Regions from separate parts of the Homo sapiens genome. Here all the other regions are linked to region 4. The links are contacts of gene promoters, found by promoter capture Hi-C in blood cells and fetal thymus (Javierre and others, 2016). All regions are on one chromosome and are shown on one strand. The core of a region is centred on a gene start or on the middle of the fragment in contact, and the rest is flanking DNA. Distances in the headings are between cores, read along the strand shown.

The links. The method cuts DNA at HindIII sites, captures the fragments that hold promoters and counts their contacts. A CHiCAGO score of 5 or more calls a contact.
Region 1: a fragment that was not itself captured here is called in contact with the fragment with the promoter of TMPO in region 4 in 2 of 17 cell types (naive CD8 T cells and total CD4 T cells); the score reaches 7.6 in naive CD8 T cells.
Region 2: a contact is called between a fragment that was not itself captured here and the fragment with the promoter of TMPO in region 4, in 4 of 17 cell types (total CD4 T cells, naive CD8 T cells, activated CD4 T cells and 1 more). The highest score is 8.4, in total CD4 T cells.
Region 3: a contact is called between a fragment that was not itself captured here and the fragment with the promoter of TMPO in region 4, in 6 of 17 cell types (activated CD4 T cells, total CD4 T cells, naive CD8 T cells and 3 more). The highest score is 11.5, in activated CD4 T cells.
Region 5: a contact is called between a fragment that was not itself captured here and the fragment with the promoter of TMPO in region 4, in 2 of 17 cell types (M0 macrophages and monocytes). The highest score is 7.0, in M0 macrophages.
Region 6: a contact is called between a fragment that was not itself captured here and the fragment with the promoter of TMPO in region 4, in 2 of 17 cell types (non-activated CD4 T cells and total CD4 T cells). The highest score is 10.3, in non-activated CD4 T cells.
Region 7: a contact is called between a fragment that was not itself captured here and the fragment with the promoter of TMPO in region 4, in 6 of 17 cell types (fetal thymus, naive CD8 T cells, activated CD4 T cells and 3 more). The highest score is 11.4, in fetal thymus.

What each region holds. Positions count from the first base shown.
Region 1 is chr12:96,024,135-96,027,064 of GRCh38, reverse strand. LTA4H (leukotriene A4 hydrolase) reads left to right here. Exons shown (of 19, transcript NM_000895.3): 4 at 2,518-2,586. Among named protein-coding and RNA genes, the nearest start is that of LTA4H, 10 kb to the left of the region's middle. The HindIII fragment of the contact is 888 bases long and covers 1,048-1,935 here.
Region 2 is chr12:96,187,157-96,190,293 of GRCh38, reverse strand. No RefSeq gene overlaps it. Among named protein-coding and RNA genes, the nearest start is that of ELK3, 5.6 kb to the left of the region's middle. The HindIII fragment of the contact is 2,406 bases long and covers 618-3,023 here.
Region 3 is chr12:96,050,538-96,053,813 of GRCh38, reverse strand. It overlaps LOC124902990 (a long non-coding RNA gene), which reads right to left and starts at 1,166. Exons shown (of 2, transcript XR_007063413.1): 1 at 1,068-1,166; 2 at 261-470. The HindIII fragment of the contact is 8,479 bases long and covers 1-3,276 here.
Region 4 is chr12:98,514,089-98,516,913 of GRCh38, reverse strand. TMPO (thymopoietin) reads right to left here and starts at 1,324. Exons shown (of 9, transcript NM_001032283.3): 1 at 768-1,324. The coding sequence starts at 1,046. TMPO-AS1 (TMPO antisense RNA 1) reads left to right here and starts at 688. Exons shown (of 2, transcript NR_027157.1): 1 at 688-923; 2 at 1,017-2,825. RefSeq lists a silencer at 565-834 and enhancers at 1,175-1,364, 1,625-1,704. The HindIII fragment of the contact is 4,246 bases long and covers 1-2,825 here.
Region 5 is chr12:95,953,339-95,956,321 of GRCh38, reverse strand. It overlaps AMDHD1 (amidohydrolase domain containing 1), which reads right to left. Exons shown (of 9, transcript NM_152435.3): 3 at 1,347-1,411. Among named protein-coding and RNA genes, the nearest start is that of AMDHD1, 11 kb to the right of the region's middle. The HindIII fragment of the contact is 442 bases long and covers 1,270-1,711 here.
Region 6 is chr12:96,112,634-96,115,720 of GRCh38, reverse strand. No RefSeq gene overlaps it. Among named protein-coding and RNA genes, the nearest start is that of LINC02452, 58 kb to the left of the region's middle. The HindIII fragment of the contact is 6,765 bases long and covers 1-3,087 here.
Region 7 is chr12:96,213,514-96,216,604 of GRCh38, reverse strand. The region is part of intron 1 of ELK3 (ETS transcription factor ELK3); the gene reads right to left. Among named protein-coding and RNA genes, the nearest start is that of ELK3, 21 kb to the right of the region's middle. The HindIII fragment of the contact is 561 bases long and covers 1,451-2,011 here.

The DNA.
Region 1 (2,930 bases), core at 242-2,741, 2.5 Mb after region 4:
TAATTTCCAAACCTTTTCCAGACACCATTGCCCAGAGGTAACCACCATTGAGTTTGGAATGTAGCTTTTCCATATTTTTCTTACACATTTACAAAAGTATGTATTATATCAATATATTAACTGTACCTTTAAAATTGCATGACTTAAACTACTTTTGTTTTCTGTTTTAAAACTAAGGGTAAAGAGCCATACAATTAGAGATAACCTGTCACAAGGATAATACATTTCAAACTGTCTTCTGAAAGAAAAAATACCTACTTTTCATAGTAATCAAATAATTTACAATTAAGGGAACTGACTTCATTAAACGTTTGCTCTATTTCCAGGCATTGTGCTAGATTCTTTACATGTTTCATCCCTCCCAATATTCCTGTGTGTTAGGTTCAAATTTCAATACAAGTCCATTTAAAAAAGGAATTAGCATATGAATCAGACCTGTTTACTTTCTATGGCCACTTGAAACATCTTTTTAATCTAAGAAACCCTCAGTTTAATAATCTAGAAGAGATGAAATGTTCTACGCAAGAGTGTACAAATTGCACAATCTGTATCTCATAAATATCTGATTTTCAGGCAGTATGTCTTAATAGAATGTCTATTAACCAAAGTTGGCAAGAAATGCAAGATTTATGAGTCATGAAAATGTTAATTTTGAATATATTATTCCATTTCTTATTGGCAGCAATGGTGGGAATATGGGAAACAGATTTCAGCTAAATTAATAAATGATTGAGGTGATAGGAATCATGTAGACATGATTTTGTTTGATGAATTTGCTTACGGTTGTTCTGTATGCATATTTGCCTGGGTTTGGCCTTATCCAATGAAATACATTTAAAAACCCCTTTGGTGTTGCCATGTCACCTAACTAGAAACCATTAAGGAACTATAGAGGCATGGTCTTGGAAATCTATTTTGGGAGAGAGAACCAGGTGGCTCTGCTAGTCCTACTTAATCCATCTAGAGGTCATTTGGGAGCCTATATCTTTGGAGAATTTTCTAGAACTGAAATGAAAAGACCTGGAGTTTGGGGGTTTTAAGAAAGCTTGTGGTGGAATGAAGTATGTTTAGGATTTGTAATAGCTTCAGAGAAGGGTGTTAATATCAGAATTCCTTTGAGTTTAGTAGACTGTCTCAATGAGGCTGGGTTTTCATTTCATTGTTCACCAGCAGTAGACAGACTTATTTGTAAACAGACCGGGTATAAGATTGTAGGTGCTCTTTTTTTTTTTTTTTTGGAGACAGGGTCTTGCTGTGTTGCCCAGGCTGTAGTGCAATGGTGCGAACTTGGGTCACTGCAGCCTAGAACTCCTGGGCTCAAGCGATCCTTTTACCTCAGCCTCCTGAGTAGCTGGGACTACAGGTGTGCACCACCATGCCCAGCTAATTTTTTTTGTGTAGAGGTAAGGTCTCACTATGTTGCCCAGGCTGGTCTCAAATTCTAGAGCTCAAGCAATCCTCTCATCTGAGCCTCCCAAAGTGCTGGGATTGCAGGAGTGAGCCACGGCACCTGGCCTGTGGTCATACTGGATGGAACCAATGTTAATAACGATTGGTGTGGCAGTACAGAAACACTTTGCATATGATATGAATGAATATGTCTAGATGGTATTGAAAGAGACTGTTCTTTCTCCCTTCTTTGCTTCTTTGTTTTACTTACAAGGTTTGCTGCAAGATTGAAGTGTCAGGATTACAGCAACATTTCTCAGGCTGTGTTCATTAGAATACTGACATCCCATTAGGTGTTAAACCAGAGAGAAATGGGTTTTGTGTTAACATAAATGTAAGAAATCAAACAGGTTTCTTTATTGTAGGTCTGTTCAGAGCCTTCAGGCGGCTAATATTCTAGTGGCTCTGCAAGACAGTGGTGCAGTATGCCATACTTCTCAGGTCTGTTTTGCTACAGAGCCCTTTTTTCTCAGGTTTCTAAAAGCTTCTCACTGGGCACTACTGTCACCCAGACCATAGAGTAGGAAACACTGCTTAAGAGTTTCTCCATGCTTCAACTGAAATGTGAGGGTTAACCATAGATTAAAATGGAAAATCTGATTTTTAAAAGTCCAAGAATCTATTTTTGGACTTTAAAAGATCCCAAAAGGCCAGGCGTGGTGGCTCACGCCTGTAATCCCTGCACTTTGGGAGGCCGAGGTGGGCAGATCACCTGAAGTTGGGAGTTCGAGACCAGCCTGATCAACATGGAGAAACCCCATCTCTACTCAAAATACAAAATTAGCTGGGCGTGGTGGTACATGCCTGTAATCCCAGCTACTCGGGAGGTTGAGGCAGGAGAATTGCTTGAACCCGGGAGGTGGAGGTTGCAGTGAGCCAAGATCATGCCATTGAACTCCAGCCTGGGCAACAAGAGTGAAACTCCGTCTCAAAAAAAAAAAAAAAATCCCAAGAAATGAGGACTGTTTTTATTTTAATGTCTAAGAACAATGCTGCAATTTTTAATGATTTCTTAATGACTTATGCGAAAGATAAATAGCTATTTCTTCTTGTTTCTCCCTTTTTCAGGCCATCCACTGCAGAGCAATCCTTCCTTGTCAGGACACTCCTTCTGTGAAATTAACCTATACTGCAGAGGTAAATATTACGAATTATTAACTCAATTAAATGATGCATATCAGTAAATATGGTATAAATGATAAGCAGAGATGATAATTGAATTCCTAGAGCTAGAATTATTTTTCTTAATGAAATTCTACCTGAAATATGTAAACAAAGAGGCTGTGGCACTCATTCTGAATCTCTACTTTAAAGGCAGTTTTAAACATTTTAACTGTGAAAAAAAGGAAATGGAAACCAATCTGACTTTTAAAAAGGAATTCAGGGCTAGGTGTGGTGGCTCACACCTGTAATCCCAGCACTTTGGGAGGCCGAGATGGGTGGATCACGAGGTCAGGAGATCGAGACCATCCTGGCTAACA
Region 2 (3,137 bases), core at 571-3,070, 2.3 Mb after region 4:
AACAGCTGAGATTCCACCAGAGATGATACGCAAAATCTGTGTGTTTGAGGAATGAGAGATAGTGATGTTCTGGAAGGTACACAGGCAGGGTCAGGGAGAGGCAGTATGAAGAATGGAAGAGGGCTAAGTCTCAAAAAATAATAATATTCATCAAAGCCTGGTTCCAAAAGAAGGGGTGTTTTAGTCAGCTTCTGCTGGGATAATATCACGTAACAAACAACTCCAAAACTTAGTAGCTTATGGCAACAAGTGAGTCTAGGTTGGCTGGGCTTGGCTGGGCTTGGCTCCAGTCTGCAGGCTGAATGCATGTCGGCTTCTCATTTCTAGGACCAGGCTAAAGGAACAGACACCACTTCAGACGTGGTTCTCAAGGAGAGTTGGAGCTCAAGTGGGGGTGAGTGGAAACGTGATGCTTCTTAAAACCTCTGCTTAGGACTGACACACTCCCACTTCTACACTTCAACATCCTACAACGTATAACAGAATGGGATGCTATCAAAAGTAAAGAAAAAAATTACAGATGGATGAGAAAACAGAGCGGGAGAAGAAAATTAGTTTTACAATAAACCAAACTAAAATTTACAGTAAACCAAGCGGAATAAATAATGTTCGAAGCTTATGAATTGCTGAATTTCTGATAGAAGCTCAAAAGGGTTTGCCATCACTACCTTCGAAGACTGCTTCAATACTGGGGGGCTAGGAGGTAGGGCTGGGAATGAACAGCCAAAGCCTGATGGTAAGACAGCCCACTCTGGTGGAATGTGTACATTTGGAATCAGGAATTTGGGAATCCAGTCCCATACCTGACTTGTTCTAACTATGGGACCTTGACTAAATCACTCACCTTCTCTGGGCTGGAACAAGTGTCAGTTTTTACTGATGTTTCCACTGAATGCCAATTTTACATTAAAATAACGTGTTATGGACTAAGATTCTTAAATGTTCATTTAAAAGCGTATTTAAAAGAGTTGTATAGACTTGTAGGCAGCCCCCTGTTGGAGTCTGCGGTCTCCCTTTTGTGTTGTTAGAGGTATTTCAGAGGGACATTTGAGAAATATTGACTTGGACCGTCTTTTTTGCCCTCACACAGGCCACTCATGGGGCAGAGCTTGGCAAACTGCAGTCAGTCCACAGAACCCACTGCCTGTTTCTGTATGACTTTTGAGTGAAGAAGTATTTGCCTTTTCTTTTTTATTTTTAATTGTGGTTAAAAAAAATCAAATTTACCGTCCTATTTTTAAGTGTATAATTAATTCTGTAGCGTTAAGTAGATTCATGTGGTTGTGAAGCTCACCTCCAGAATTTTTTCATCTTATGAAACTGAAACTCTATCCCCATTAAACACGAGCCCCCATCTTTCCCTTCCCCAGCCCTTGGCAACCATCATTCTACTTTTTGTTTCTATGAGTTTGACTAGATACTTTGCATAAATGGAATTGTACAATATTTATCTTTTTGTGACTGGCTTATTTCACTTAGCATAATGTCCTCAGTGATCATCCGTATTGATCATGCGACAGGATTTCCTTTCTTTTTATTTTATTATGATTATTATTATTATTATTGAGACAGGGTCTTGCTCTGTCACCCAGGCAGTACTGCAGTGGCATGATCACAGCTCACTGCAGCCTCGACCTCCCAGGCTCAAGTGATCGTCCCTCCTCCACCTCCCAAGTAAATGGGACTACAGGTGCCCACCACCACACCTGGCTAATTTTTTATTTTTTGTAGAGATGGCATCTTGCTATGTTGCCCAGGCTGGTCTTGAACTCTTAGACACAAGCAATCCTCCCACCTCATCCTCCCTAAGTGCTGGGATTACAGGCATGAGCCACTGCACCTGGCCTTCCTTCCTTTTTAGAACTAGATACTATCCCATTGTTTGTGCATACCACATTTTATTTATCCATTCATTTGTTTTGGACATTTGGGTTGCTTCTACCTCTTGGCCATTGTGAGTAATAAGAATCTACATTTTTAAATGTTTGAAAACAAGCCAAAAGAAGGATAATATTTTGTAACATGTGAAAATTATGTGAAATCCAAATTTAGTGTCCCTAAGTAAAGTTTTATTGGAACACAGCCACATTCATTTATTTACATATTGTCTAACACTGTTTTTGCACTATAACAGCATGCTTGAGTAGTTGTGACAGAGACCATATGGCCCATAAAGCTGAAGATATTTACTTTCTGGCTCTTTATAGAAAAAGTTTGTCAACTGCTGGTGTAGGCAAAAGAGATTCTGTGCTGTTTTTTGGTTTGGATTTTTAACTGCATTTTCTTTCTCATTCCAGACAAGGCCCTTGCTTGCCACATCACGTAAAAATCTTACGTGTCTTTAATGCACTTCACGTCCAGGAACCTCAGCTTCAAAGAAAACCAAACGCTCATGCTTCATTTAATTCCCCTTATTCGGTCTTCCAAAGAGGTGGAGAATAGCTGGTGCTCACTGTCCCAGACACTGAGATGGCATTTCAAGATTTTCTCTGCAATCTGGTCTCTGAACAGACTTGAGCCTTTGTCTGCTGGTTCCCAACCCTGGTTACACATCAGAACCATGTGCTCCAGGACCTCACCTCTTGGAGTCTGAGGTTGAGCCCAGGAAACTCTATGTCTCCATATTTCCATCCAGACACCCTCTCTCTTCATGAAACCCTTGTAAATGTCTTACTCATTCTTTAGACATGGCTTAAACCTCAGCTCCTCCAAGAAGTCTTCCAAGATTCACCAGATGAAATGTATGGCCCATTTCTCCTACATCCCCCACAGAACCGTGTTTGAACTTTACAGCTTAGACTTATTTCTATGACTCGCTCCACTATGCATTCCCGTCTCTATATCCCTAACACCTGCCAAGAAAGTGCTAAAAATTTTTGTTGAATCAATCAGTCCATAATAGAAGAAATGATGTAAAATACAGTTTTGTAAATGATGTTATACCATACTAATTGAGATATGTGAACAATCATGAAGAAGAAGAATTAATGACATTCGGGGGGAATTAAAACTGATTCCAAGCTTCAGAGTTTTAAATTTAAAAAATGATCGAAATTCAGTAACACCCTGTACCCTCACACCCACCCTGAATCCACATCGTACCTTTAGAAAGGAAGGGAGGGTAAATATGTAGTGGT
Region 3 (3,276 bases), core at 693-3,192, 2.5 Mb after region 4:
AGTTGTATATTGTTTTCACGGCTCAATTGTGTTAGCAGAAGGCAGCTTCCCCATGGCTGCCATTTCCTCCACTTTTAGAGAATGGGAAACTTCAGTGATTCCCTGCCCTGATCACCAGGCCAGGGTAGACTAGACGGCCCCAGTGCACACAGACATCTTGTGTAAAATGTGAGGCATTCATTCTTCAGAAAAACACGTGGGGGTTCAATAAGTGTGTCTTAGTCCATTCAGGCTGCTATAACAAAATACCATAGACTGGGTAGCTTATGCACAACAGAAATTTATTTCTCACAATTTTGGAGGCTGAGAAGTCCTTGATAAAGATGCCAGCAGATGTGATGTCTGGTGAGGGCCCATTTTCTGGTTCATAGATGGTGCCTTCTTCCTGTGTCTTCACATGGTGGAAGGGCATACAAGCTCTCTGAAGTCCCTTTTGTAAGAGCACAAATTCCATTCACCAAAGGCCCCATCTGCCAATACCATCAACTTGGGGGTTAGGATTTCAACATATAAATTTTGGGGGTGACACAAACATTTAGACCATAACAAAAGATGAGTTTTTTTCTGAATTTGCTTTTTGTTCCTAACTTTGCTTATAACTGTCAACCTCATAAGAAGTATTTTCCCTCTCAAATACCCATCCAAACTTTACACATTCATTCATTAGAGGTTTCCAAAGTAGTATGGACATAGGCGTATGGACATAGGCACATGGCAATTATTTGGATGCAGGCAGAAACTATTAAATCTTTAAGATTATTTATGTAACTGGCTTCACAAACATAATTTGTAACATACAATTATAAACAACTATATTTTATTCTTCTACTGTCCCTTTAATTTTTCTCAGTGAACTGGTATTTCCTCTGCCTCTGGATAAACCTTGTGCAGGCTCGTGATTTTTCTGGATCCTCAGATAATTACAAGTTCTATGATCATGTTTCATATATTGCAGCCTTAATTTAGAAGTTAGAATGTAAGCATAAGTGAGTGCCTGGGTCAGCTAAGGCTGCCAAAACAAAATATTATAGACTGGGTGGCTTAAACAACAGATATTCATTTCTTACAATTCTGGAGGCTGACAAGTTCAAGTTCAGACTGTGAGCAGATTCAGTGTTTGCCATGGCCCCTTTTCCTGGCTTGCAGATGGCCACCTTCTTGCTGTATCTTCACATGGCAGAGAGAGGAAGCTCTAGTCTCTCTTCTTCTTATAAGGGCACTGATTCCATCACAAGGGATCTACCCTCATGACCTCATCCAAACCTAATTACCTCCCAAAGACCTCACCTCGTAATACCCTCACATTGGGGGTTAGGGCTTCAATATATGAATTTGGGGGAGACTTAAACGTTTAGTTCATAATATTCTGCCCTTTGTCCCTCTCAAAATTCACATCCTCCTTGCATTTAAAATACATTCATTCCATCTTAACAGTCTCAAAAGTCAACTCATTCCAGCATCAACTCTAAAGTTTAAAGTCTCATCTAAATATCATGTAAATCCAATATGAGTGAGACTCAAAATTCACCCTAAGGCAAAATTCCTTTCCAACTGTGAATCTGTGAAACCAGACAAGTTATGTGCTTCCGAAATACAATGATGGAACAGGCTCAGGATAGATATTCCTATTCCAAAAGGGAGAAATTGAAAGGTAGAAAGGGGTGACAAGTACCAAGAAATCCAAAATCTAGAAGTCAAACTTCATTAGGCTTTAAAACTGAAATACAATCCTCTTTGGCTCAAAGAATGCTCTGCCCTGTAGGCCCACTGGGGTGGTGGTCCTCCCTTCCAGAACCACTGGAAGGTATCACCCCCATCTTTCAGTGGGGTGTCCCTGCTTCTTCAGCTCAGTGTAGCACTGCCCACATGGCTGTCTGTGAGGGCCACACCCACATGAGTGCTGAGTAGCAGTCCCACTCTTTGAAACCAAGATGGAGGTAGCCTTGTTCCCAGGGGCCTTTCCACTCTGGGCCTGTGGTGGGAGTAGCAGCCCTGATGATGTCTGAATTGCCTTTGGGATCCTTCCTCTCTTTTCCTGAAGGGGATTGCATATTCACAGCCTTACTTCATTCCATCTTGTTTTCTCTTTTCCTTTTAGTCCCAACTGGCAGGGGACTAAAGCATTATTTCTCCTGGAATAATCCCAACTCTATTTCTGGCTTCTGTTGAGATGGCTGATTAGGTCCATGGTTGATACTCACACTACTCTCCTTATCAAATGGGTGACCAGCCACACTCTTAATAATCTCTTCTTTTCTTTTCTTTTTTTATTTTTTAAAATAGAGATGGGGTCTCACCATGTTGCCCAGGCTGGTCTTGAACTCCTGAGCTCAAGTAATCTGCCTGCTTTGGCATCCCAAAGTGCTGGGATTATAGGCAGGAGCCACCATGCTTGGCCTAACTCTTCTGAACATGGTTTCTCATTTTTTTTGCAGTAAGGACAGGCTAAGAATTTTCCAAATCTTTAAGTGCTGGTTATTTTTTGATTAACAATTTCTTCTTCAATTCATTTCTCTCTTCTTAAATTTTACTATCAGTGGTCAAGAGGAACCAAGCTGCTCTTTCAGCACTCTGCTTAGAAATGGCCTCAGCCAACTATCCAATTTCATTGTTTGAAAGTTCTACCGTCCACAAAACACTAGAACATAAACAATTCAGTAAGTTATTTGCCACTTTATAAAAAGGATTTTCTCCATTGTCCAATAACATGTTCCTCATTTCCATCTGAGGCCTCACAGAATAGCCTTTGCCACCTATATTTCTGCTAGCATTCTGTTCACGATTGTTTACGCATCCTCAAAGAAGGAAGACAGAAGCTCTTTTTGAGTCCTCACCAGAATCATCTTTAGCAATTTTTTCACAGCAACCTTGGCTTTTTGTAGCATGTATCTCAAAACTCTTTTAGCCTTCACCCATCACCCTGCATCATTACTGCTTCCACATTTTTAGAATTTATTTTAATTTAAAAAATGTATATAATGTAATTCAGAAGATCCAAAGATATCCCTTATGCACCATATGGATGCCAATTTCACTACGCAAATTTCACCATGCAAATTCTTCCTCCCTCTGAAATACTTTGGTCTTTATTAGTAGTAGTATTATTTTAATTTGAGATTCAGGAGGTACATGTACAGGTTTGTTACATGAATATATTGCCTAATGCTGAGGTTTGGGCTTCTGCTGAACTGTCACCCAAATGGTGAACATGAACATAGTACCCAATAGGTAGTTTTTCAACTCTCTTTCCTCCCTCCTTCCCTTTCCCCTTTTGGA
Region 4 (2,825 bases), core at 75-2,574:
CGCTTGAACCCGGGAGGTGGAGGTTGCGGTGAGCCGAGATCTCGCCATTGCACTCCAGCCTGGGCAACAAGTGCGACACTCCATCTAAAAAAATAAATAAATAAAAACTAAAAAATTATAATAGGCGCCTAAAAATATAGTTTAAAATGCTCCTTTTAATTCGGCATGAACCTGTTCCGCCAAAAGATGGCCTGTTGCTGGGAAAAATTAAAACAAACTAGAAAACATAAACGGTTCAAAAAGCCCTCCACACGCAAAAGTATAAAAAGGCGGGAATTTCCTCATTTCAAATTTTGGTTAGAAATTAGAGTGTCATCAGTTGCCCTCCAGGGAGCGCTCTGAGACTCTGCTGCGAGTCATTTCAGTTAATAAAGCGGGAAAACGCTCGAACTTAACCTATAGCATTTTGGGGCCACCCCTCCAGAGCTTTCGAAAGGGCACGGAAGTCCCCGTCTAAACGCCCGCTGCAGGCGGCTGGTGGTCCAGGGAAGCGGCGTCGACTGCGTGCAAAACAACCGCCGCCAACGCAACTCCACACCTCCCAGACCCACACGTCAAAGAACGCGAACCCCGCGGCCCCAACTTCTGGCCTCTCCGCTCCGGCGCCTGCAGCCCCGCGGGGAAGGGGCGACGCGAGGGGGCGCAGGGACAGCCCCGCACCTGGGAGGCCCGAGGGGGCGCCCGGGAGGGAGGGGCTGCAAACGGCGGCGAGCGCGCGCGGCAACCGCCAAACGCCCGCCTTTGTAGCCCCGGCCCCGCGTCCTTACCCTGCCGACGGCTGCTCGGCTCCGGCCCGCGGCGGCGGCCCCAGAGCCGAGGACCGGGGTGGGCTCGCGCTCTTCGTCACTGGAGAAGTCCGGGGGCCCCTTGCTGTTGGTGCCGGCGGGGAGCGGCGGCCGGTTGCGAGCCGTGAGGTGCTGCAGGTAGAGCTGGACGTACACGTCTTTGCGCTGCTCCCCGGCCGGCAGCGTCACATTGTTGGCGACCAACTCACTCTTCAACTTGTCTTTTGTCAGGACCGAGGGGTCTTCCAGGAACTCCGGCATCTCGGGGATCTGCGAAGCCCCCTCCCCACAGCCTTTGCCGCCGCCGCTCACGCCGGCGCGCTTGCTCCTGGCCGGGGACCGCGCTGCCGCCTCCGAGCCTCACGGCTCCTGCCCGGGAAGAGCGCTGCGGAGCGGAACAAAAACTCGCGGACACAAAGCCAAGCCAGACCCGGACACAAAAGACCCCAGAGCCGAACTACGAACCAACTGCGGCCAAGCTGGAAGCTCGCACCAACCCCAGCCCACACACTACAGGCAGGAGGCGAGCAGCCTGCTTCGCCCACGCCCCAAGAACGCGCGCCGCCATTGGCGGGCGACGGGAGGAAGCGCGGCGGTGATTGGCGAGACGGCTCGCGCGGGTTCCATTAGCCGCCGCGCTGAGCGAGAGGAGGTAGAAACGCAGTTTAAAAGGCGCTGGGGCGGGAGCCGAGGCTCCCGGCCCGCTTCTGTTTTCGTTTTCTCCACCCTTCCCCTTAGACGCCGATAAGGGACAGGTCGTACTGCTTTTGTGCGCCGTTTCCTCTCCCTCCCCCAGCTTGAGAAGCAGCTTTCGTCTCTGGGGTCGATCGCCTACGAACGCGCCGAATTCCACGCCAGTGTGAGGACCCTTGGCTGGGCCTTTCTTCCTCCCGGGACACTGAAGCTCCAAGAGTAGCCGCAGCCTTGCCTTCCCCAAACGCTAGCCCTGAAGGGGAAGAAAAGAAGCGAGGCTTGTCTGCAGGCACTCATATTCCTTGATTTGATTTACTTTGGGAGGGGGAGGGCGGGGAGTTACCCCTCTCCTCGCGAACGCTTCTTTTGTTCCAGAAACCCAGGGGAAGCCAGACCTCTACAATCGGGCACTTAAATTACCCTTGAATTTGTGACAAAAGTGTACTATACCATTCACTTCTTAGTGTCATAGTTGGGGCATGTCTAAATTGTTTAATTTGAACAGTGCGTTCAGACGCAAGACAAATTCGCGCTTGCATTTTTGTTGAAACCGTCTCTGGCTTTGGATCCCACCACCCGCAAGAATCCTAAACCTAACGTTTGATAACAAAACGAAGGAGAACCCTTGGGAACCCCCTCAATGGTCAATTTAAAATAACAGATGGTGCATAATCCTAAAGGAAGACTAGTGACCTATAATTAGGCCTAGAACCCTAATCAAACCCGTATTACCGATCCAAATTAAAACCTGGTAGAATCTAATACATTGACTGCAATTAAAATGTTTGCCTGGAAATTAGTATCACTGATGACAAATATTTGTATTTCTGATGAATATGTATGTTTAAAGATGCTTTCTTTCTAGAAAGGAAAGGAGACCTTGGATGTAGGGTGTGTTAATCATTTCCCCAGAATCTGAGCTCCAAACTATGTTTTAGAAACTGGTTAAATTTTTTTTAAATGTTTGCCTGCTTTCTACATTGCTAGGTTAGAATACATTTAAAACAAACGCCTTCACTAAAAATGTTTCCTATGATTTAAGCGACTTACTTTTATTCAAATTGCGATATTATTTCTTTTAGTGATAATTATTTTCCTAGAGGTAACTAATTCCTTTATAAAAATCTCAGTATTCACATACATTTAAGCAATGGTATTAAGCTCAATAATGCAAATTAAAAATCAGGTTTTAATTAGCAAGTTGTTAGGTAGGTTTTTATGATCCCTTGTAAAAGTTGCTTGGTTTTTTGTCCTCACAGCTTCCCTGGACACATAGGCAAATGTTTTTATCTTCAGAAGGGGAACTGAGCTGAGAGGCAAAGGACCATGACTTTGCAATGACTGGTA
Region 5 (2,983 bases), core at 241-2,740, 2.6 Mb after region 4:
CCTGACCAATATGGTGAAACCCCATCTCTACTAAAAATACAAAAATTAGCGGGGGCATGGTGGCACACGCCTGTAGCCCCAGCTACTCTGGAGGCTGAGACAGGAGAATCACTTGAACCCGGGAGGCGGAGGTTGCAGGGAGCTGAGATCGCACCACTGCACTCCAGCCTGGGTGACAGAGCGAGACTCTATCTCAAAAAACAAACAAACAAACAAAACAAAACAAAACTGGCACAGGAGTATTGCAATATTTTAACAAGTCAATCAACCCGCAATGTGTACTTGCTAAGTATCAGCCCTCCCTCCATCCCTCAGCTTGTTTGAGAAAACAAAGCTTAGGCAATTCAGGAGTTGCAGGGAACCCCATTGCAATTATTCAGATCTCCACTAAAGCGGCCCCAGGAAGTTTCCTTGTCTCAATATTTGGCCATCCGAGTTTGGAGCTTGATCTTTGTCACTCAAAGAGGCTCTTTCTAGGGTCCCACTGGGCTCCAGTTACTCTGGGCAGCAAGGAGTGTGGTGCAGAGAAAGGATGCAGGCCTGGGGTCTCCTGGCCGGAGTTTTCATCTGGGTTCTGCCATCCTCCAGCTGGTGACGCTAGTCAACACTCTTCCCTTCTCTAGACCCAGCTTTCTCCATCTACATAATGAGAGGATTGGACTGTAAATCTCTTTCTCCGTCTATACAATGAGAGGATTGGACTGCTTTTGGCTCTGAAATTCTGTGATTTAATAAAACAATCTTAAAAACAGCTCTAGTTTGTTGAAGCAGGTACATGATAGCTGAAGAAAAGAATTTTTTTTTTCTTTTCCTGAAATAAGCCAGTTTAGCTGCTAGGAGGCACATCTTTTTTTTTCTTTTTTAAAAAACACATGTGAAAATCTCTCCAACCAGGGATTTAGGAGTTGGTTACAGCTAATATAGGACTAACACAGCTTACATTTTGTGATTCTTAATAAGTCTCAGTTTATAACAGAAAAATTAAGGTATTTTATTTTTGTGATTAGTAACATATTTTTCCAAGCTTTACTCCAATGAATGGCAATTTTCAAACTATTCCTTGGAGCCCTTTCAAAAGCTACTAGAGATAGCGATTTGGAATGGGAATGTGGGGAAGGAAAGAGAGGGAGACATTAGTGGGCAGGAATAGCCCTGTGTATAATACAATGATTTGGGGCAGTTATAAATAAGTTTTGTTGTCATTTGTTTCCCATACCCAAGCAAGTAAAAATATCCATTAAAAAATATGTTGACATATGTTGCAAAGCTTGATAGCCTACTAACTCTTCAGCAAAAGACTTCATATTTGTGCTTTATTTTGATTTGCCATGATTTGTTGCAGTTACCTTCATTGCAAATTCGTGAACTCTTTCACCAGCCCATACTGGATGTGTGTGTGCATCCACCAAACCTATAATCAATAAATCAAGTTATCTTACAATTAAGAAATAGAGAGCACTTAGACAGCAGGCAAACAGCAGCACTATACCCTGCTGCTCTGGGGAAAGTGTGATGGTGGCCATCCATTTTGGAGGAGCATGAAAGGAAGAATTTGTCTGTCTGGTTCCCTTGATAGAGAGAAAAGAAGACTGCCCTGTTGTATGGTTGGTCTAGAAAGCTCTAATGAAGGAGGTGATGCAACATGATGAAAATATCCCTTACAGAAATACAGCTCCTTTTGCTCAGTAAGTCCATGCTCACCAAATAAGCTTTTATTTTATTTTATTTTATTTTATTTTATTTTATTTATTTTTGAGAAAGGTTCTCACTCTGTCGCCCAGGCTGGAGTGCAGTGGCACACTCACAGCTCCCTACAGCCTTGACCTCCCAGGCTCAAGCAATCCTCCCACCTCAGCCTCCCTAGTAGCTGGGACTATAGTCATGCACCACCACACAAGCTAAAATTTGCCATGTTGCCCAGGTTGGTCTTGAACTCCTGGGCTTAAACGATCTGCCTGCCTCAGCCTCCAATGATCTGCCTGACTCAGCCTCCCAAAGTGCTGGGATTACAAGCATCAGCCACTACTCCTGGCCCAAATAAGCTTTGAAATTAGGTTGTCAAGCCCCCTAGTTGGCAAAACCATGAACCTTATCACAAGGAATAATCTGGATATGAAAACAATACTACAATCCCCTCCCCCTGCAACTCTGAGAAGGGAAAATGTGAAATCAGAAAGATTAATCTATTTTCAAGAAAGAAATGTATTTTAATTAAGGAGAAACTGTAAAGCAATCACTTGAAACTTTTGTTTATCCAGGTACAATTCAGTAAAGTGTGTCTTTCCAAAATGTTTTAGATACCTTATGGATTAAATGACTCATTATTGGCTCTGATTGGACTAAAATCAAAAGCGCCTACTCAGATTGCTTTCTGCTATATTCCTCTTTTTCATAACATTTCACCCTGACTTTGTCTCCTGACTCTCAAGAATCATAAGGAAGGCCGGGCGTGGTGGCTCATGCCTATAATACCAGCACTTTGGGAGACCGAGATCAGCAGATCGCTTGAGATCAGGAGTTTGAGACCAGCCTGACCAACATGGTGAAACCCTGTTGCTACTAAAAATACAAAAATTAGCCAGGCATGATGGTGCATGCCTGTAATCCAGCTACTTAGGAGACTGAGGCAAAAGAATTGCTTGAACCTGGGAGGTGGAGGTTGCAGTGAGCCAAGATCACACCACTGCCCTCCAGCCTTGGTGACACAGTGAGACTGTCTCAAAATAAACAAACAAATGAAAACCCATCAGTTAGAAGCTCTGTCAGATGTGTACAATAAATATTTAAAAGTATAAAAATTTTATATAAAAAAATATAAATATGAAGCCCTTTTGTTTGTGTAGAACTGAAAGTTTGTGAAACTTGTTTTGGATGATTATATGAAGCCATACAACATAATGTAGGAGATGATGGTTAATAAACTGATTCTGTTGTCAATCATCAAAGATACAAGTGAACTGCAGTGAAAGCTCTAGGATTTTTG
Region 6 (3,087 bases), core at 20-2,519, 2.4 Mb after region 4:
TTCAGTGATACCTAACAGTTACAGCCCCTACCATGGGCAGACACTGTCCTAAACTGGCTGGGTGTGGTGGCTCACACCTATAATCCCAGCACCCTGGGAGGCCGAGGCAGGCAGATTACCTGAGGTCAGGAGTTCGGGACCAGCCTGGCCAACATGGTAAAACCCCGTCTCTACTAAAAATACGAAAATTAGCTAGGTGTGGTGGCATGGCCTGTAATCCCAGCAACTCAGGAGGCTGAGGCAGGAGAATTGCTTGAACCTGGGAGGTGGAGGTTGCAGTGAGCCAAGATCGCACCACTGCAGCCTGGGTGACAGAGCTAGACTCCATCTTAAAAAAAAAAAAAAAAAAAAAAAAAAAAAAAATTTACACCATTAACTCCTTTAATTCTCGTATCACTTCTAGCGAATATCTTATATTATTATCATCTCCGTTGCATATACAGGGAAACTGAGGTATACAGAATAATTCTCACAGTCATATAGCTAATAATATGTGGGCTACTTTTTGAACTAGCTGTCACTGAAAACCAAATAAAATATATTAAATTTATAAACACAGTTAAAAACCCTTGAAGTTGTTTAATTAACTAAGTCTGAGTGGAACCAACCCTTAAGCAAATCCTCCAATAAAACAGACTGTGCCCCAGATTCCAGGTTTGCGTGCTTACCTTTTACATTAAGAAGCTGACTACAAATTAACTAAAAAGAAAAAACCCTGACTCCTTAGTCATTTTCGTAAAACTAATATTATACTTATAAATATAGCATAAAAGGTTCAAATTATTTTATATATTCCAAAACTTACTTTTTATTTTTATTTTTGTGTGTGTATTTCTGCTGTTTAATATTTTTTATAGAGACAGGGTCTTGCTATGTTGCTCAGGCTGGTCTCCAACTCCTGGCCTCAGGCAATCCTCCCAGCTTGGCCTCCCAAAGTGTTGGGTTTATAGGCATGAGCCACCCCACTTGGCCTACAGATTCTTTTGTAATTCTCTTACAAAAATTTCTTGACCGGGCACAGTGGCTCATGCCTGTAATCCCAGCACTTTGGGAGGCCGAGGCGGGTGGATCACAAGGTCAGGAGATCGAGACCATCCTGGCTAACACAGTGAAACCCCGTCTCTACTAAAAACACACACACAAAAAATTAGCCAGGCATGGTGGCAGGCGCCTGTAGTCCCAGCTACTTGGGAGGCTGAGGCGGGAGAATGGCATGAACCCAGGAGGTGGAGCTTGCAGTGAGCCAAGATCATGCCACTGCATTCCAGCCTGGGTGACAGAGTGAGACTCCGTCTCAAAAAACAAAAAAACAAAAAAAGAACCCTCAGTATATCAAGTTGTTCAATATGCCAAATTCATTTAAACATTTAAGTGCTTAAAATATCAAACATATGGATTATTTTCAAAATTTATGTATATTTTTAAAAGACTTAACCCTACAGATTTGACATACTCCATCACCTTTATATTTAATTCTAAATCTTCCCTGGGTTGAAGACATTTAGCTATTACGGAAATTCCCTGTCCTCCCTGGGAAGGAGTGTTGAGGGGAGTGAGCAATGGAGTTGGTGCTGCTGAATGTCTGATAAGAGCTGAAAATTAACCACTGCATTTGGCCAAGTGAAGGTCATAGTGACCTTGACAAGAGCTGGTGTTGATGGTTTGATGAAATGAAGGTGTAAATAAAAAGGATACATGAGAGAAGAACAGGAGAGGATAAGGAGGCAAGTCTTTTTGCCATTAGAGGAGCAGGAAAGTGGGACAATAGCTGAAGGGAGATGTGGGGTCAAGTAAGTTTTTTGTTTGTTTGTTTTGAGACAGAGTCTTGCTCTGTCACCCAGACTGGAGTGCAGTGGTGCGAACTCAGCTCACTACAACCTCCACCTTCCAGGTTCCAGCAATTCTCCTGCCTCAGCCTCCCAAGTAGCTGGGATTACAGGCACCTGCCACCACACCAGGCTAATTTTTTGTATTTCTAGTAGAGATGGGGTTTCACTATGTTAGCCAGGCTGGTTTCGAACTCCTGATCTTGAGTGATCCACCAGCCTTCCTCCCAAAGTGCTGGGATTACAGGCGTGAGCCACTGCGCCTGGCCCCAAGGAAGACTTTTTTTAACGGAATTTATTGTAAATAAGTTGATAGGGTGGGAAAGGATGAATTCAGGAGAAAAGAGGCAAGTGACATTCCTGGGTAGGTAGAAGAGTTGGAATCTACTCTCCAAGTGAAGGAACTGACCTTGGAAAGGCACAGGAACCGCTGGACCATGGTCACTGGAGGGAAAGTAGCATAGAAGGACACAGGAACTGCTAGATGTGCTGGAAGCAGGTGCAAGTTTTTTCTGATTGCTCCTGTTTTCTCCAGAAAATAGGAAGTGAGGTTCTTAGTGCAGCACATTGGGGAAGGATGTATTGATGGTTTGAGGAAAGGGAAAGCATGAGATCGTCCTTTGGGAAAGTGGGAGAGTAATAGGATCACGGAAATGTAATGGGATTATCCATTAGCCTGAAGGGCCGTTGGTATATGAAGACTATCTGAAGCCTTAGGACTGGATGAGAACAGTACGGAGTGAGTTTGGACAGAGGAGAGGACAGGGTTGAGGATGGAGCCTGGCTGGCAGAGCTCACTGTAGAGCCAAAACGATTAGATCTGTGTGCAACATTATTTAATCCAGCAAACCACAGGGATTAGAGGGAATTCCCACTTCTCCAAACTTAGTTAATAATTGATCACTCACTTACCAGTCGGATCAAGTTCAATGGTTTACTTTCTGGACCAGGAAACGCTTTTGTGATACATTTTCCCCCACACAAATGGATGTCTGGTGCCTGCTGCCTTCCAACAATATTACTTGTATTTCCTGAAAGTCAGAACGACAAGGGACTTCAAACGCTATTATCAGTTAGGGCTGCAAAGCCAAACACAGCTGTAGGCTTTCAGAACCAATGAACACATCAGGTTTCATTAGAAACTGGAGAAGCCATGACTTCTGGTGATAAGTATCACTGGGGCAATATACTGAAATATCAATATCTGCACAAGGGAGCTAATTAAAAATTGGCAAATCATTTGCTCATAAAGGTTCTGGTT
Region 7 (3,091 bases), core at 482-2,981, 2.3 Mb after region 4:
AGGCTAGAAGGCATTGTGTAGCTACAGCACCCACCTGGGCTCTTTGTCCATTAGGCAATGAGCCCCACACAGGCACTGAAATCCAGGGAGACTCTTCAGCCACATGGCGACTGTGGTTTATAAGGTGACTTGGAGTATGCTTCTGTTTTGTAGTCTATCATCAAATATGAAAGCACAAAAAATCGTAAATGCTTGCAGAAAACTCAGATGCTAGGGCACTGATTCTCCGACTCCAGCTTAACAAACACTGGTTTAAATGCTGACCCTGAGGCCTCCAAGCTGTGTGACCTCAGCAAAGAGGGTCCCTGGGGCTCTCTCCTTCCCTGGGGTACATTCGGCTCCCATCTATGTGGTTTCTCTGGAGCAGGAAGGAGAGTCAAGTACATGAGAGCTGTTGGGTCAGATAGCGAAGAAAGAAAGATGTTCTAAATGACAAGCCAAGGGACAATGATGACAACACCGCTCATAGCCGCTGCAGATGGGGCCCTACAGGAGGGCATTCACGGGCTGGTCAGGGCAAAAGACACAGAGTAGAGAGGCCGAGAGTAAAACGCTTGACCTCTGGCACAGAGGGGAGGGACATTTTTGCAGACTCTGAGTGATTATTTTCTGCCCTTATTCTGTTTTCAGCTTTTTGCACTTAAAGAATGCAGTTATGAAAACAGTTTTGAGGCTAGGCGTGATAGCTCACGCCTGTAATCCTGGCACTTTGGGAGGCCGAGGTGGGTGGATCGCTTGAGCCCAGGAATTCGAGACCAGCCTGGGCAAGAGTAAGACCCCATCTCTACAAAAAATACAAAAATTAGCTGTGTCTGGTGGTCCGCGCCTGTCCACCCAGCTACTCAAGAGGCTGGGGTGAGAGGATCGCCTAAGCCTGGGAAGTAGAGGCTGCAGTGAGCTGTGATTGCACCACTGCACTCCAGCCTGGGTGACAGAGCGAGACCATCTCTCTTTAAAAAAAAAAAAAAAAAAAAAGGTTTTATGTCCCTCTTTAGTCTTTCCCATGTTTTTATTTAACTTTGATTCATTCTTTAATCCGACGGAGCCTCAAAAAGAAAGATGCTATTGACAGAAATATTGATCATTCTCATTACGCTGTGCCCGCCTCCGCCTACGTGAGAGCTGTCAGGTCACATGACACGATCCCAGCTTCAGGTGTCCCAGCTGCCTCCTGCCTCTGTCACCGAAAAGCTACTGGCCTCTTCTTGGAAGCTGACCTCCTTCCTGTCGGCCACAAGGTGGCGCCCGACGTCTTAATGTGAGCAAGGGCCGCACAGACCCCTTATGCAAAGTATGAGGTTTTTGCCTCCATTCTTAGAAGTCGAAATGCCCACTTATTTGTTCTTCTTTCTACTGATGGCAACCTAGCACTTCCCTTTGCATGTTCCTTGTTTCATTTTTACTGAGGTGGGAGTTGAGGGGGCAGAATTAGCTTTGATTTTCTTAAGCTTCTATGTGGTGGGAAATAAGAAACGAGGCAACTTAAAAAAAAAAAAAAGGCAATGAGAGCCCAAGAAAAGGAGAAAAACTTCTGGGTAAGGAATAAACAAAATAGGTGCTCATGAGGTACCCATGTCTTTTTTCGTTTGTTAAATTTTGCATGGTTAGAGAAATGAAGATGGATTTGAACACTTCTTACTGAAAATTCTGCTGAGTTCAACTCCTCTGCCAGTATCTGCTATGCATTTCCATGTCATGATACTATCATTGTCTAAGACAAAGGGTAGTAGCCATTTCATTATAGAAAATGAACCCTGTACCTCAGTCAAAGAACTGGAAGACAACATTTTATATTATTAGGGATCTGCAATAACTCAGCACAGAGTAAGTGTAAGGTATTAAGTAAATAAGGATAATATTTGAAAAAAAAACTTATACAAGTTCTGAAGTTTTTTATTATTTCTGTGAGTTGGAAGACTATTAAATTTATTTTCAAAGGACATTTAAATTATTTTGATCATTATCACTGTGTATAAAAAAGGCATGAGGCCAACTTCATGTCTCCCAAGCTTTTCATTTATTAACAAGTATTTGCATTCTGTGAATATCTACAAATTGTTCATTTTAAAAAAGGTAAACAAAAGTAGGTATTGCTCACCTATTTACTTACTCTTTACAGTCTGCAATGGTTTTTGCTGTTTTTTTTTTTGTTTGTTTGTTTTGTTTTGTTTTTTGAGACAGAGTCTTGCTCTGTCGCCCAGGCTGGAGCACAGTGGTGTGATCTCGGTTCACTGCAAGCTCCGCCTCCCAGGTTCAAGTGATTCTCGTGCCTCAGCCTCCCGAGTAGCTGGGACTACAGGCGCACACCACTGCCTCCGGCTCATTTTTGTATTTTTAGTAGAGACAGGGTTTCAGCATGTTCGCCAGGGTGGTCTCAAACTCCTGACCTCAGGTGATCCACCCACCTCGGCCTCCCAAAGTGCTGGGATTATAAGCGTGAGCCACCGTGTCTGGCCCAGTCTGCAATGTTTTTTAAATAACTCTTCCATCTTGGGAAAGAGAAAGGTTGCTGGGATTACATGCCTGTACATGTTATATCTAGCACAATGTAATATCTAGCACAATGCAAGGATTACTGGGTTTTTAATGAACGGATTACATGTCTGTAATCCCAGCACTTTGGGAGACCGAGGAGGGAGGACAGTTTGTGCCTAGGAGTTCAAGACCAGCCTGGGCAACACGAGACCCCCATCCCCACAAAAAACACAAAAGTTAGCTGGATGTGGTGACACATACCTGTAGTCCCAGCTACTTGGGGAGCTGAGGCAGGAGGATCACTTAAGCCCAGGAGTTTGAGGCTGCAGTGAGCTGTGATCACATCACTGCACCCCAGCCTGGGCAACAGAGCATGAACCTGTCTCAAAAACAAAACAAAAAAAAAGAGAGATTTTTCAGAGGAAATCACTGACAACCACTGAAATAACAACATATGCAATTTACTGTGTGTAGGAACACCCCTCTTTCCTTCTGGAACTATGCTGTCTCTGGCTAAATTAGAAGTAACTCAATTGGTTTGTCAGTGACTTTTATATGGGTGAGTAGTAAATGATGGCTTCGTTAACACTGGCTGAGAAAATGTCTTACAACCATT